Linked DNA regions of Homo sapiens: region 2 is linked to region 1. The links are contacts of gene promoters, found by promoter capture Hi-C in human tissues and cell types (Jung and others, 2019). All regions are on one chromosome and are shown on one strand. Each heading gives the region's core, a stretch centred on a gene start or on the middle of the fragment in contact. The rest is flanking DNA. Distances are from core to core; before and after follow the strand shown. Region 1 holds the start of SLC26A3 (solute carrier family 26 member 3). Region 2 overlaps LINC02577 (long intergenic non-protein coding RNA 2577).

Region 1 (6,641 bases), core at 2,088-4,587:
TTTTCTTAGGTTTTGTTTTTGTCCTTTAATAATGTTTTCTAATTATCTCTATAAAGTTCATCATTATATATCTTTAGATAAGATTTACTCCAGCTAGGCACAGTGGCTTGCGCCTGTAATCCCAGCACTTTGGGAGGTCGAGGTAGCAGGATAGCTTGAGGCCAGGAGTTGGAGACCAGCCTAGACAACATAGAAAAAACCCATCTCTACAAAATAAAATTAAAATTAAAAAATTTACTCCTGTAATCCCAGCACTTTGGGAGGCTGAGGCGGGCAGATCACGAGATCAAGAGTTCAAGACCAGCCTGACCAACATGGTGAAACCCCCATTTCTACTAAAAATACAAAAATTAGCCAGGCGTGGTGGTGCGTGCCTGTAATCCCAGCTACTCAGGAGGCTGAGGCAGGAGAATCGCTTGAACCCAGGAGGCAGAGGTTGCAGTGGGCTGAGATCGAGCCACTGCACCCCAGCCTGGGCAACAGAGTGAGACTCCATCTCAAAACAAATAAATAAATTAAATTAGCCAGGTGTGGTGGCATGTGCCTGTAGTCTAAGCTACTTGGGAGGCTGAGGCAGGAGGATCACTTGAGCCCAGGAGTTCAAGGTTTCGGAAAGCTATGATTGAGCCACTATACTCCAGCCTTAGTGACAGAACCAGACCTTGTCTCTTAAAAATAAAAAACAAAAAGGATTTATTTCTACTAATCTTTGTAGCTTTTGTTGCTATTACCAATGATATCTTTCTTTTTATTACATTTACTACATGGTTATTATTAGTATATAGGAAGGCTATACACTATGTAATATATATCGTGTAATAATTTGCCTTTGTTCAGCTTGTATCCATCAATCTTGCAATACTCTCTTATTTGTTCTAAAATAAATCATTTTTATGCTGATCAATAATTCTGAGCCTCTACCTTTAAGTGCAATATTTTCCAGTTCTTCCATCAACCACATCTAAATACAAAATTTAATCAGTGTATAGTGGTTCTGAATAAATATTCTGTACATCTGTTAAAATTATAAAAAGCAGTATTATACAGTAAAGACATGACAAAGTTAGGCTTTCTGGATTCTAGCTGGCTTCAATAAAAGCCAATAAAAATTAAAAATTGAGATTTCACCACAAGTGAAAACTCAATCTATTCATTTGTAAAATAGGAATAAAAATACTAAGCTATCTATGGTTGTTATGAGGATTAAATGGGATAAACCCAATAAAACACATTGCAAAGTTACAGCCCATACTAAACACTAATTAAAGTTAGCTAATGTTGATAAAAGCATGATAAGTGGCACCACAGCTCATTCAGTTACGCAGTTAGCACAGGTGTGAGCCAGATTTAAAAACACAGGTTAGATTAATTTCTAACAAACGCTAATGACCTGTCCACATTCTTTTGGAATTGTCTTATAGCAAACATAATTCATTGATTGAACTGTCATTGAACCACTATTTATTGAGTCATTGTTCTGTGGTAGATTCATTCTAGGTACTGGGCATACAGCAGTGAATTCGCCAAAGTCCCTGCCTGTGTGGGGCTTTCATTCTAATGAGAAAGCCAAACATTAGCCAAGTAAATAATTGTGTATTTTTAAATTATGATGCTATGTTTTAAAAAGTACATGCAAATTAACCAAGGGACTTAAAAAAATACTCTGAGAGAATGCCACAAGAGGGGCTAATTGAGATTAGGAAGTCAAAGTGGTTCTCCTTGAGAAAGTGATGTTGAAGCTAAGTAACAGCCAAACCGAGAGAGAGAGAGAAGTGCATTTAAGCAGAGAAAATGATGTCTGCAAAGAGTGGGCAAATTTGGGACTACAGGAGGCCACCATGGTGGGAGTGGAGAAAACAAAAGTAAGAGCAGAGTCAGATGAGGTTGGAGAGTTGTGCAGGGGGAGATCATGCAAAGACTTTGGAGGCCTGTTTTCCCTCTGTGTAATCATCAGCCCCACAAAGAGGACTAGTGTGAAAAGATCATTCTGATTAATGAGTGGTAAAGAGATGGGGAGGGCTGCGAGAGGAAGCAAGAAGTGCAGCAAAGGTAAGAGTGAAGATGAAGAAAAGTGATGGCTTTGGGATGTATTTTGGAGGCATGCTCAATAGGGTTTAAGGATGGATTGGCTGCGGGTGGGGAGAAGGTCTGCAAGAAGAAGTGTCAGAGATGGTTCCCAGGTCTCTGACATGAGTAAAGGGGAATATTCTTTACTGAAATGGGGAAGACTAGAGATGGAGCAGATTTGGGAGGAAAGATCAAGAGGTCTTAATCTCGATATGTGTCGTGTTTGAGATGCCTATGAGGCATCCAAGCAAAGATGTGGAATAGGCAGTTAAATATGTGGACCTAGAGAGCTGGGGTTAGAAATCTGAATGTTGCTGGGAGCCATAGGACTCTTATTTAGGGTAAGAGGGTAGCAAGAGAGGAGAAGGAAATTCAGAACAGAATCTTAGGAAATGCCAAAGAAAGAGTTAGAGGAGAAATTGGCAAAAAGGATGAGGTGAAAAACAAGTGTGTTAAAAATTTTTTTTTAGCATTTCAAGAAGAGAAGATTTTAGCCCGGCATGATGGCTGAGGCCTCTAATCCCAGCTACTCAGGAGGTTAAAGCAGGAGGATCACTTCAGGCCAGGAGTTTGAGACCAGCCCGGGCAACACAGCAATACCCCATCTCTAAAATTAACTAATTAGTTAAATAATTTTTAAAATAAAAAGAGGAGTTCATGAAAGTGTAGTCAGCAATGCCAAATGCTTTTAAGTAAGATGAGAGTTGAAAGTATTCATTGTGTTTAGCAACATAGGGTTTATTGCTCTTAGGAAGAGCTGTGGTGGGGGCAGAAATTGGAATGCAGATATGGCCTGTGGCTGGGAGTTGGGTGAGTGTTCCTAATGAGGGCCTTTATCATACCAGGAGTTAACCTATACACCACACTTCTGCAGCCCATGACAGATTCCATGGAGTCATCCAGCCAAAAAACACCACCACTAAACTCTCATCTAAACAGGTTGGTGAAATGTCAAGGAGATAACCCTTGAGAAGATTCTTTTTTTTTTTAAGTACACGTGAGCATCTGCTGTGCAATCTCTGCAAACCAATGAAATTACGTACACACAAGTGCATTAAACCACCCACTGGTGGTTTAATCTCACAAGGAACTTGAGGAAGCAATCTTCATCATCACTTCTGCTGATCAAAGTCTCAAAGGTCAAGACCACATTGCAGTCTTTTCATTGTTGTAAAAGTTAATGAGAGTTAATTATTAAAGCTGACAGAAAGGTAATTTGTCCACTGTCTTACATAGCCTATATATAGACATCCCTATGCATATGGATGCACACAGAGCCTGTAGACCTGAGTGGATGGACACTGCCTCTTAGAACTAGAACTTAGAACTTTATCTTGAAAATGTACCACTGTTGCAGAAGCTCCTCACAGAGTATGTGTCAGGTAGGAACCAAATTTATGATTGTTATATTCAAACTGGTTTTCTGTTCCTTGAAAATGGTATTTTTTCTGATCAAAGCCTATTTAGGAGTTATTATGTTCTTGAGTTTATTCCATGTGTGTGAATATTTTGAATGAATCCACTAATAAGATATGCATGTATGTCTGGAGCGCTAGCAATGTAGAATAAATATTTAAGTAGACTTTAACAAGTAAATGGTTGTAGGCATCATTAAGTCTTAAATAGCCTTTTCAAAGATATTAGTGTTCTTGTTTTAATTATTCAGATAATTCCTTTAATTCTCCACTCAAATCTGACTTTATAGATAGATTGTCTGCTCTGAGGGTTGGCAAAAAAAAAAAAAAAAAAAGCAAGCTTTAAGGAAAGAGTTTCTCCAGGAGAGAGAATCACCTACTAGAAAGGATTCAGAAAGGCCATCTGGTCCCAGCCAGGCATAGGGATATGTATCTATAGTCCTAGCTACTCAAGAGGCTAAAGCAGGAGGATAGCTTAGCCCAAGAGTTTGAGGTCAGCCTAGGCAACATGGCAAGACCTTGTCTCTTAAAAAAAAAGGGAGGGGGTAGGGGACATATGGTCTAGAAGTGAGAGATTTATCTGCTAGACATCCTAGAAAGTCCAAGACTAAGGGAAACACGGAGAGAAGAAAAGGCAATGAGAGTAAGAAGGATAGAGACTGGAAAGAGAAGAGAGATGGGGAGAAAATGGTCACTGGAAAGTAGCAGAATGCCCTATGCCACAAGTAGTATAATATAATATAATACATTAGTAATGTATGGGTACTTATCCCATACATTACTAACTCTATCAAGATAAAATCTATTTTATTCTTTAAAATGTCAGGAAAAGATTATACAACTTTCTTTATATATGCAAGTGAGGAACAATTTATCAAATTATTGGACTAAATAATTCTCTTTTCTGAAGTAAGTTAGTCATTTGGAAAAACTGTGTCATGAAATTTGACTGCATAAAGATCATTCCTTTTTTTTTTTTTTTTTCTGAGACGGATTCTCACTCTGTCGCCCAGGCTGGAGTGCAGTGGCACAATCTCTGCTCACTGCAACCTCTGCCTCCCAGGTTCAAGTGATTATCCTGCCTCAGCCCCCCAAGTAGCTGATACTACAGGCACGCTCCACTGTGCCTGGCATTTTTTTTTTTTTTTTTTTGTATTTTCAGTAGAGACGGGGTTTCGCCATGTTGGCCAGGCTGGTCTCGAACTCCTGACCTCAGGTGATCCTCCCACCTCAGTCTCCCAAAGTGCTAGGATTACAGGCATGTGCCACCCCATCCGGCCAAGGATTATTCCTAATGAAAATTTAGGAAGCAACTAATTTGATTTCAGAAACAAGAAAAATGGGGTAACACAATACATACTTTGCCTTCTCCCTCTGGATAAGGGAATAAGTAAGTATATAAAGAAATGAACAAATGTTTAATACCTCCTAAACAGCTCATATTCGACTAAGAAACAAAATCGTTCAGAAAATGAGAATGAATATTTTTCAATTACAAGAATAAATATGTAATAACACAGTCTGGTGCTTCTCTACAATAAAGGTCTTTGATTCTCCAAAGAGAAGAGAAGAGGCTCCTCTAGCCTCTGTGTCACTTTGTTGAGAAGCAAGGGGAAGAATAAAGCAAGTCACCTCAAGGAGATTTGTCCCCAGGCCACCAGGCTCATGTTTTGTGTTGTGGATATTGAGTGTAGGAGTGTGAGGCTTTCATGCTCAAAAGCAAGGACCCTGATGGTGCCTCACCTTGTTCTTTTACCTTGTCTCTCTTGGGGGTAGGGGCTGAGACCCCTGACATTGAATATGTAGCAGAGAAGAAGACGTAGTGGAGAGAGTCAGTTATTCACTAGATGTGGCTTCTCATCCTGGCTCTGGGAAGTTGAGAAAGTCATTTATCTTCTCTCATCTCCATTTCTTCATCTGTAAATTAGCGACAATACAGCCTATCTTGTCTGCCTCCATCCACAGTAATACTCAAGGAAGAAAAGTGAAAGTGCTCAGAAAATCTCAAAGCCTTACAGAAATGGCCAGGGATTCTCTTTTGCCTGCTGTGAGCCTACTGGGTGTGAAATCCCTTGCTATGGTGCATCCCAACATTTCTCTAATGGTTTAGCCTATGGGCCAACAAAGCCTTCTGTTTCAGTGTTTGGAACTCTCAATAACCTTTCACATGATTTGCTTATTGCCCACTGCTTTGTCATCACCCCTGCCAAACCTATCTGTTCTTTAAAGTCTAACACAAGACTCACAGTTCCTTCACAAAACCTTCCTAACTCCAACCCACATTTACATCCCTTCTTCCAATTTATTATCTGCACCAATTATTTTGGGCACTTCTCCTGTGTATGTAAACTTTGGAGTTTAGGTCTACGTCATTTATATATCTTTTGCTCATAGTTCAGTTTATTTCAACAAACTTTCTTGTATACTTACTATGTCATAGGACCTAACAAAAGAGGGAAAAATGGTTAAGATTTGGGCCTTGCCCTTGGGAAACTCAGTCTTAAAGGGAACAGAAACATAAACAAATAATGTATGACATGGAATAGACATATATACAAGGTACTTACAAGAAGGAAATGATCAACTCTATCTAGGGATTCCATGAAGGCTTTACATCATTTTCTTATCTTCTACAACTGTGTTAGGAACTGAGTTCCTGACAAATAATAGGCTGATACATGTTTGTTGAAGGAATGAAGAAATGAATCAATGGTCAGCTGAGTTGTGTTTTGTTTGTTTGTTTGTTTTAGAGACAGGGTTTCTTTATATTGGCCAGGCTGGTCTTGAACTCCTGGCCTCAAGCAATCTCCCCACTTCAGTCTCCCAACGTGCCAAAATTACAGGCATGAGCCACTGCACCCAGCTGTGCTGAGTATTTTTAAGAATGAATTGGAATCTACCAGGTATTGGAGAAGAAGAACACAAAGGAAATCATGTGTACAGAGATACGGAACTGTTAAATATCATAGCGTGTTAGGAACCTGCTGCAATTGTGAAGGAGGAGTGAAGAAGCTTGTGAGATAGACCAGAGCCAAAACATGAAGGACCTTGTATGTCATTCTAGGAAGCTCGGATAGCTAGATTATTTTAAAACTATGTTAAAACAAACTGGGATAAAAATGGAAAACTGCTACTTCTAAAGATAAGCTCAGAGTAAAC
Region 2 (6,805 bases), core at 2,174-4,673, 980 kb after region 1:
TCACTTTTTCTCACTACAGCTAATTCCAGCTACTGCTTATAAAAGCTGTCATTCTTCATTTCTTTAAATGTTAATTATAATCATAAAGGCATTACTGGAAAATACCTTCTCCCTATATAGGTCCATATGGCAGGAAATGTTTCATAAGTGGTTGTCCTTTTTATTAGAGTTGATTTCAGAAAATTATTTTAACCTGTATTCAAAAATGCTGTCATTATCTGTTTCTATATCTGCCAGTGTATTTATTAGTCAGGGTTGTCCAGAGCAACAGAACCAATATGGTATAGCTATAGCTATAGATATAAGACAGGGAGTTACTGGGGGAATTGGCTCATGCTATTATAGAGGCTGAGAAGTCCCACTGCAGGCCACCTGCAAGCTGGTGGAGACCATGGAATGGTGATAGCATGGTTCAGTCCAAGTCCAAAAGTCCAGAAACCAGTGGTGTAATTTCCAGTCCAAGCCCAAAGTCCTAAGAACCCAGGAGGCCACTGGTGTAAGTCCTGGAATCCACAGGCTGAAGAACATGGAGTTCTAAAGTCTATGGGCAGAAGGAGAATATCCTAGCTCCAGGAGAGAAAGAGATTGAAAATCATCTTTCCTTTGCCGTTTTTTTTGTTGTTGTTCTATCCAGGTCCCCAGCTGATTGGATGGTGCCTGGCCACATCAAAGGTGGATCTTTCCCACTCACTCCACTGACTTACACACCAATCTCCTCTGGAAACACCTCATAGACACACCCAGAAATAAAGCTTTACCAGTTCGCCAGGTATTCCTGAATCCAGTCAAGTTGACACCTAAAATTAACTATCACAAGTCCACTGCTTGTCAACTTGGCACCCACACACGTCTCTGTAAACTGTACTTAGTCTCCAAATAAAGACAATAACAAGGTAATAGTCCTACCTAACCTGATACAATTATCCTGTGGCTCATGTTTGTAATCCCAGCACCTTGGGAAGGTGAGGCAGGCGGATCACCTGAGGTGGGGAGTTGGAGACCAGCCTGACCAACATGGAGAAACCCTGTTTCTACCAAAAATACAAAATTAGCCGGATGTGGTGGCGCATGCCTGTAATCCCAGCTACTCAGGAGGCTGAGACAGTAGAATCGCTTGAACCCAGGAGGCGGAGGTTGCAGTGAGCAGAGATCATGCCATTGCACGCCAGCCTGGGCAGCAAGAGTGAAACTCCGTCTCAAAAAACAAAACAAAACAAAACAAAACAAAACACCACTAAACCCTTACCCAGAAGAGGAGGTAAAGTCCTTGAATGATGTTTACTTGTCTCCTGATATCCCATCACTTAAATATTATGATGTATTATTAACAATACTTAAATACTGATATAAAGTCAATATATCTTAAGTTAAATGATTCAGAGGAATGAAAACAAAGATACTTGTTTAATATATGTATATATAAATACAAATGCATTCTTAACAAAATAGGGAGAAATATGACAATTACAGTCCTCATTTCTGTAACTGGTCACATGATCATAACTGGTATTTATAACTACTTTCTTCCAATATCCATTCTGTATTCCCTTTGCCTTCAACATGCACCTCATCTGGTCATGGTTCTTTACCTGGTGGGGTGAACCTTCATTCCTGAAGGGTCTGGGTCAATTGTAGTCCTGCTTGGATTGGGTTGTTGTAATTTCTCATTGACTTTAATCACAGGGTTTGGTAGTACTAAGAGATGCCCTAAGGGATCTTCCGTATTCCAGACATACTCTCCCTAAACCCCAATGTGGAGTACTCATCCAGTTTCCCCTTAGTAGTCTGGATCAATTTCCCCAGCCACCACAGTAACTCCCTTGTTTGCCCGTTGACTCATAGGCATGAGAAGCCCAAAGTGGGTGGCAGTCTTAACTTCCAGTTGAATGGAGTCATCGTTATGTCTCCTATGGCAGCGCTCTTCTCTGATGCTAAGACTTGTAGGCCAGCAGAGCATAAAGTCACAGAAACAGGAAACAACATTTTGCTACTGGGTCACTAAGGATAAGGGTGAGTGGTGCCACTCCCATTTATACCCCTTGATTCCTGGAACTGTGAATCTTGGCTATAAGAGAAACAGTACCATATATTGGACACTGGTTCAAAGGATATATAGCTTTCTGGAGAACCTCATCCCAGCCCTGTAAAGTATTATCACCTAGTTGATGCTGTAACTGTGACTCAAAATGCCATTCATCAAGCCAGTTGCTTCAGGACAATGGGGACCTTGGTAAGGTCAGTGAACTCCGTGAGCATGAGCCCATTGCTGCACATTTTTGGTTGGGAAGTGAGTTCCTTGGTCAGAAGCAATGCTGTGTGGAATGCCAAGATAATGGATAAACATTCTGTAAGTCCACAGATGGTCGTTTTGGCAGAAGCATTGCATACAAGGAAGGCAAATCTATATCCAGAGTAAGTGCCGGTAAGAACGAAATGTTGCCCATCCTATGATGGAAGTGGGAGTGGCACCATTTGCCATTATCCCTATTGACCCACTAGAAAAATGTTGTTTCCTGTTTCTGTGACTTTATGCTCTGCTGGCCTACAAGTCTTAGCATCAGAGAAGAGTGCTGCCACCAGGAGACACAACAATGATTCCATTCAACTGGAAGTTAAGACTGCCACCCAGTCACTTTGGGCTCCTCATGCCTGTGAGTCAACAGGCAAACAAAGGAGTTACTGTGTTGGCTGGGGAAATTGATCCAGACTACCAAGGGGAAACTGGATGAGTACTCCACATTGGGGTTAAGGGAGAGTATGTCTGGAATACAGAAGATCCCTTAGGGCATCTCTTAGTATCACCAAACTCTGTGATTAAAGTCAATGGAAAATTACAACAACCTAATCCAAGCAGGACTACAATTGACCCAGACCCTTCAGAAATGAAGGTTCACCCCACCAGGTAAAGAACCGTGACTAGCTGAGGTGCTTGCTGAGGGCAAAGAGAATACAGAATGGATATTGGAAGAAAGTAGTTATAAATACCAGTTATGACTGTGTGACCAGTTACAGAAATGAGGACTGTAATTGTCATCAGTATTTTCTCCGTATTTTGTTCAGAATACATTTGTGTGTGTGTGTGTGTGTGTGCGTGTGTGTGTATACACACATATATTAAACAAATATCTTTGTTTTCATTCCTCTCTTAATCATTTAACATAAGATATATTGACTTTAGGGACCTGGCACAGTGGCTCACGCCTGTTATTCCAGCACTTCGGGAGGCTGAGGTGGGCAGATCACTTGAGGCCAGGAGTTGGAGACCAGCCTGGCCAAAGTGATGGAACCCCATCTCTACTAAAAATACAAAAAATTAGCGTGGTAGCACGTACCTGTAATCTCAGCTTCTCAGGAGGCTGAGGCACGAGAATCACTTGAACTCAGGAAGTGGAGGTTGCAGTTAGCTGAGATCATGCCATTGCACTCTGGCCTGGGCAACACAGCAAGACTCTGTCTCAAAAAAAAAAAAGATATATTCACTTTATATCAGTATTTAAGTATTGTTAATTTTACATCATAGTATTTAAGTTATGAAATATCAGGAGACAAGTAAATATCATTCAAGGACTTTACCCCATCTTCTGGGTAAGGGATTAGTTTTTTATTGTATGCAGGATAATTGTATCAGGTTAGGTGGGTCTATTACCTTGTTATTGTCTTTACTTGGAGATTAAGTTCAGTTTACAGAGAGGTGTGTAGGTGTGTAGATTAAGTACAGACAAGAGGTGGACTTGTCATCATTAATTTTAGGTGTCATGTTGACTGGATTGAGGAATACCTGGAGAAGTGGTAAAGCATTATTTCTGGGTATGTCAGGGTGTTTCCAGAGATTGGAGTAATCAACCTGCCACAAGGTAGCTGGCTGATCCACCGAAGCCAATGATACTGTATCAAGGGCTCAGTGTGGGTCTTGGCTGCTGGCAGATTGAGCCCTCAGAGGTGACTGTAGCCAGGTCAGCTTTGCTAAGTGGAGGTCTATGTTGCTGAACTCATACATGACTTCCATCTCTGCCACGCTGGGCAATTTATTCTTGAGTCCATTGGATGATGGTAGGGGTAGCTGGGGAAAGAGGGTGACTAGTATCCACAGAATGGGTCATCCCATCTCCTTGATTATTAGTCCTCCTCTGCTGAGATCACACTTTGGTGAGCATTGGCAAAGGACATAATCATCTTCACATCTTTTTCCCACTCAGGTCCATCCACATATCTCTTCCCCAAATTTCTTTGTCACCAATTTTCCAATTATGTTTCTTTCAATTCTCTGACCATCTGGCCAAACCATTGGTTACAGTTCATGAATTGGTATATAATTCCACATCTGGCCATTTCTCCATCCAAGCAAAGTGTACAACGTGGTGCACTGTCCAAAGTTCTACACACTGAGATTTCTCTTCACCGCTATCCTCTAAAGATGTCCCACAAAGGGATGGTATTGCTGAAACTGTCCACTTTTGGATGGTGCCTGCATATTATGCAGAACCACCTGTAAACTGGGACCTCTATCAATTGATCATAGGATACTCCCCATGGGGCCATTGGTGCAGGCTGAGGCAGTGTAGTTGGAACCAGGGGCATTTGGGTCACTTTGTGTAACTTACTTGTGCTTCAGAACCTGCTTGGGCCCAGTTATGTGTATATCACTTCCATTTGATGATAGAGGGCTGCTGTGTATGCCCAACGTTATGGCTTGGTGGGTCAGTTAACACCTAGTTAATGATGGTCAGCTCAGGTTGCATAGTTACTTGGTGGCCCATGGTCAAATGTTCAGTTTCTACTAAGGCCTAGTAGCAGGCCAAGACTGCCTCTCAAAAGAAGGGTCATTATTTGTGGATGATGGCAAGGCCTTGCTCCCAAAATCCTAAGGGCCTTTGCTGCAATTTATCTATGGGGACCAATGAAAGGCTTCAAACAGCATCCTTATCTGCCACTGACCCCTCCAGCACCATTGGATCTGCTGGGTCATATGGCCCAAATGGCAGAGTAGCTTGCACAGCAGCCTGGACCTGTTGCCTCTGCCTTATCCTGTTCTGGGCCCCATTCAAAACTAGCAGCTTTCCAGGTCACTTGGTAGATGGGCTAGAGTAACACACCAAAAGGAGGAACACGTTGCCTTCAAAATCCAAAGAGGCCTACTAGGTATGGTGCCTCTTTCTTGGTTGTAGGAGGGGCCAGATGGAACACCTTATTCATCACCTTGGAAGGGATATCTCAACATGCCGCACACTGCTGGACCCATAGAAATTTCATGGAGCTAGAAGGCCCTGAAGTTTGGTTGGATTTATTTTCCACCCTCTGACACACAAAATGCCTCACCAGTAAGTCCAGAGTGCTTGCTACTTCATGCTCACTAGGTCCAATCAGCATAATATAATGGGCCAGAATGATATCTTGTGGATGGGAAAGGTGATCAAGATCCCAGTGAACTAAATTGTGACATAGAGATGGATAGTTGATATAATTCTGAGGTAGGACAGTAAAGGTGTATTGCTGACCTTGCCAGATGAAAGCAAACTGCTTCTGGTGGGCCTTATGGACAGGGTTGGAGAAAAAGCCATTCTCCACATCAACAGCTATATACCAGGTACCAGGAGTTGTGTTAATTTGCTTAAACAATGAAACCACATCTCGTATAGCAGCTGCAATTGGAGTCATCACTGGGTTAAAACTACAATAATTCACTGTCATTCTCCAGAGTCCATTTGTCTTCTGTCTTCTGCACAGACCAGATAGAAAAGTTGAATGGGGATGTGGTAGGAATCTCCACCCCTGCATCTTTCATGTCCTTGATGGTGGCACTAATCTCTGCAATCCCTTCAGGGACGCAATCAATGGATTTTGATTTACTATTTTCCTAGGTAGGGGCAGCTCTAATGGCTTTGATTTGGCCTTTCTCACCATAATAGCCCTCATTCCACAGGTTAAGGAATATGGGGATTCTGCCAGCTGGCAAGAACGTCTGTTCCAATCATACATTCTGGAACTGAGGAAATAACCACATGATGGGTTCACAGACCCACCAGACCTATTGTGAGTCAGACCTGAGCCAAAGCTCCATTGCTAACCTAACCTCTATAAGCCCTTGCTGTGACTTGTGGGCCGCAGTGACTTTTTGGGTCTCCTGGAATCAATGTCAATTCAGAGGCAGTGTTCAGTAGTCCTGAAAGATCTGTACTTCCTTTTCCCCAGTGCACAGTTATGCTGGTAAAAGGCCGTAGGTCCCTTTGGGGAAGGATGGGAGAAAGTTTAATAGTGTAAATTTTCAGTAGTGTACCAGGGTACTTCCTGGACAGAACCTGGCCTCCCCTTCATTCAAGTATTTCTGGGTCTGTGAACTGGCTCAAGTCTAGGAATTGATTGAGAGGGAATGATTCTCTGTTTTTATGTTTCAAATTAAACCTTTGTTCACTTGACCTGATAGTTTTCTGTTTATACAGATCAAGTAAGAACTTAGTAGGCTTCCTATCTATTTTACTTTTAGGAACACCATGGTTAGCTAGCCAACACCCTGGATTTACACAAGTCACACTATTCTGATTGTTGCTGTGCCTCAGCTGTCTAAGATGGTAACTATACACACCTTGCCTTTGATAGATGAGTGCCACCACTTAGCCCCTGCCACACCAGGTTTCAATGATACCCATTGCATTTAAGTTTTCCAATTGAGTGACTGCAATTCTGTCATGATTGGTGCAAGGTTAGAAATAACCAGGTCCATGTGTGGTTGTGTCTTTCCACACTGTCAGGCTTTTGTTGATACTGTTCCAATCACAAAAGCCAGAAGCTGCATGGAGTTCCCAAGGAA

Evidence for each region. The method cuts DNA at HindIII sites, captures the fragments that hold promoters and counts their contacts. A contact is called where the count stands out against the background at its distance.
Region 2: a fragment that was not itself captured here is called in contact with the fragment with the promoter of SLC26A3 in region 1 in 1 of the 25 tissues and cell types used here (dorsolateral prefrontal cortex).

What each region holds. Positions count from the first base shown.
Region 1 is chr7:107,799,919-107,806,559 of GRCh38, reverse strand. It overlaps SLC26A3 (solute carrier family 26 member 3), which reads left to right and starts at 3,337. Exons shown (of 21, transcript NM_000111.3): 1 at 3,337-3,449. The HindIII fragment of the contact is 6,982 bases long and covers 1-5,158 here.
Region 2 is chr7:106,819,709-106,826,513 of GRCh38, reverse strand. LINC02577 (long intergenic non-protein coding RNA 2577) reads right to left here. Exons shown (of 5, transcript NR_170304.1): 2 at 3,333-3,450. Among named protein-coding and RNA genes, the nearest start is that of PIK3CG, 42 kb to the left of the region's middle. The HindIII fragment of the contact is 7,636 bases long and covers 1-6,805 here.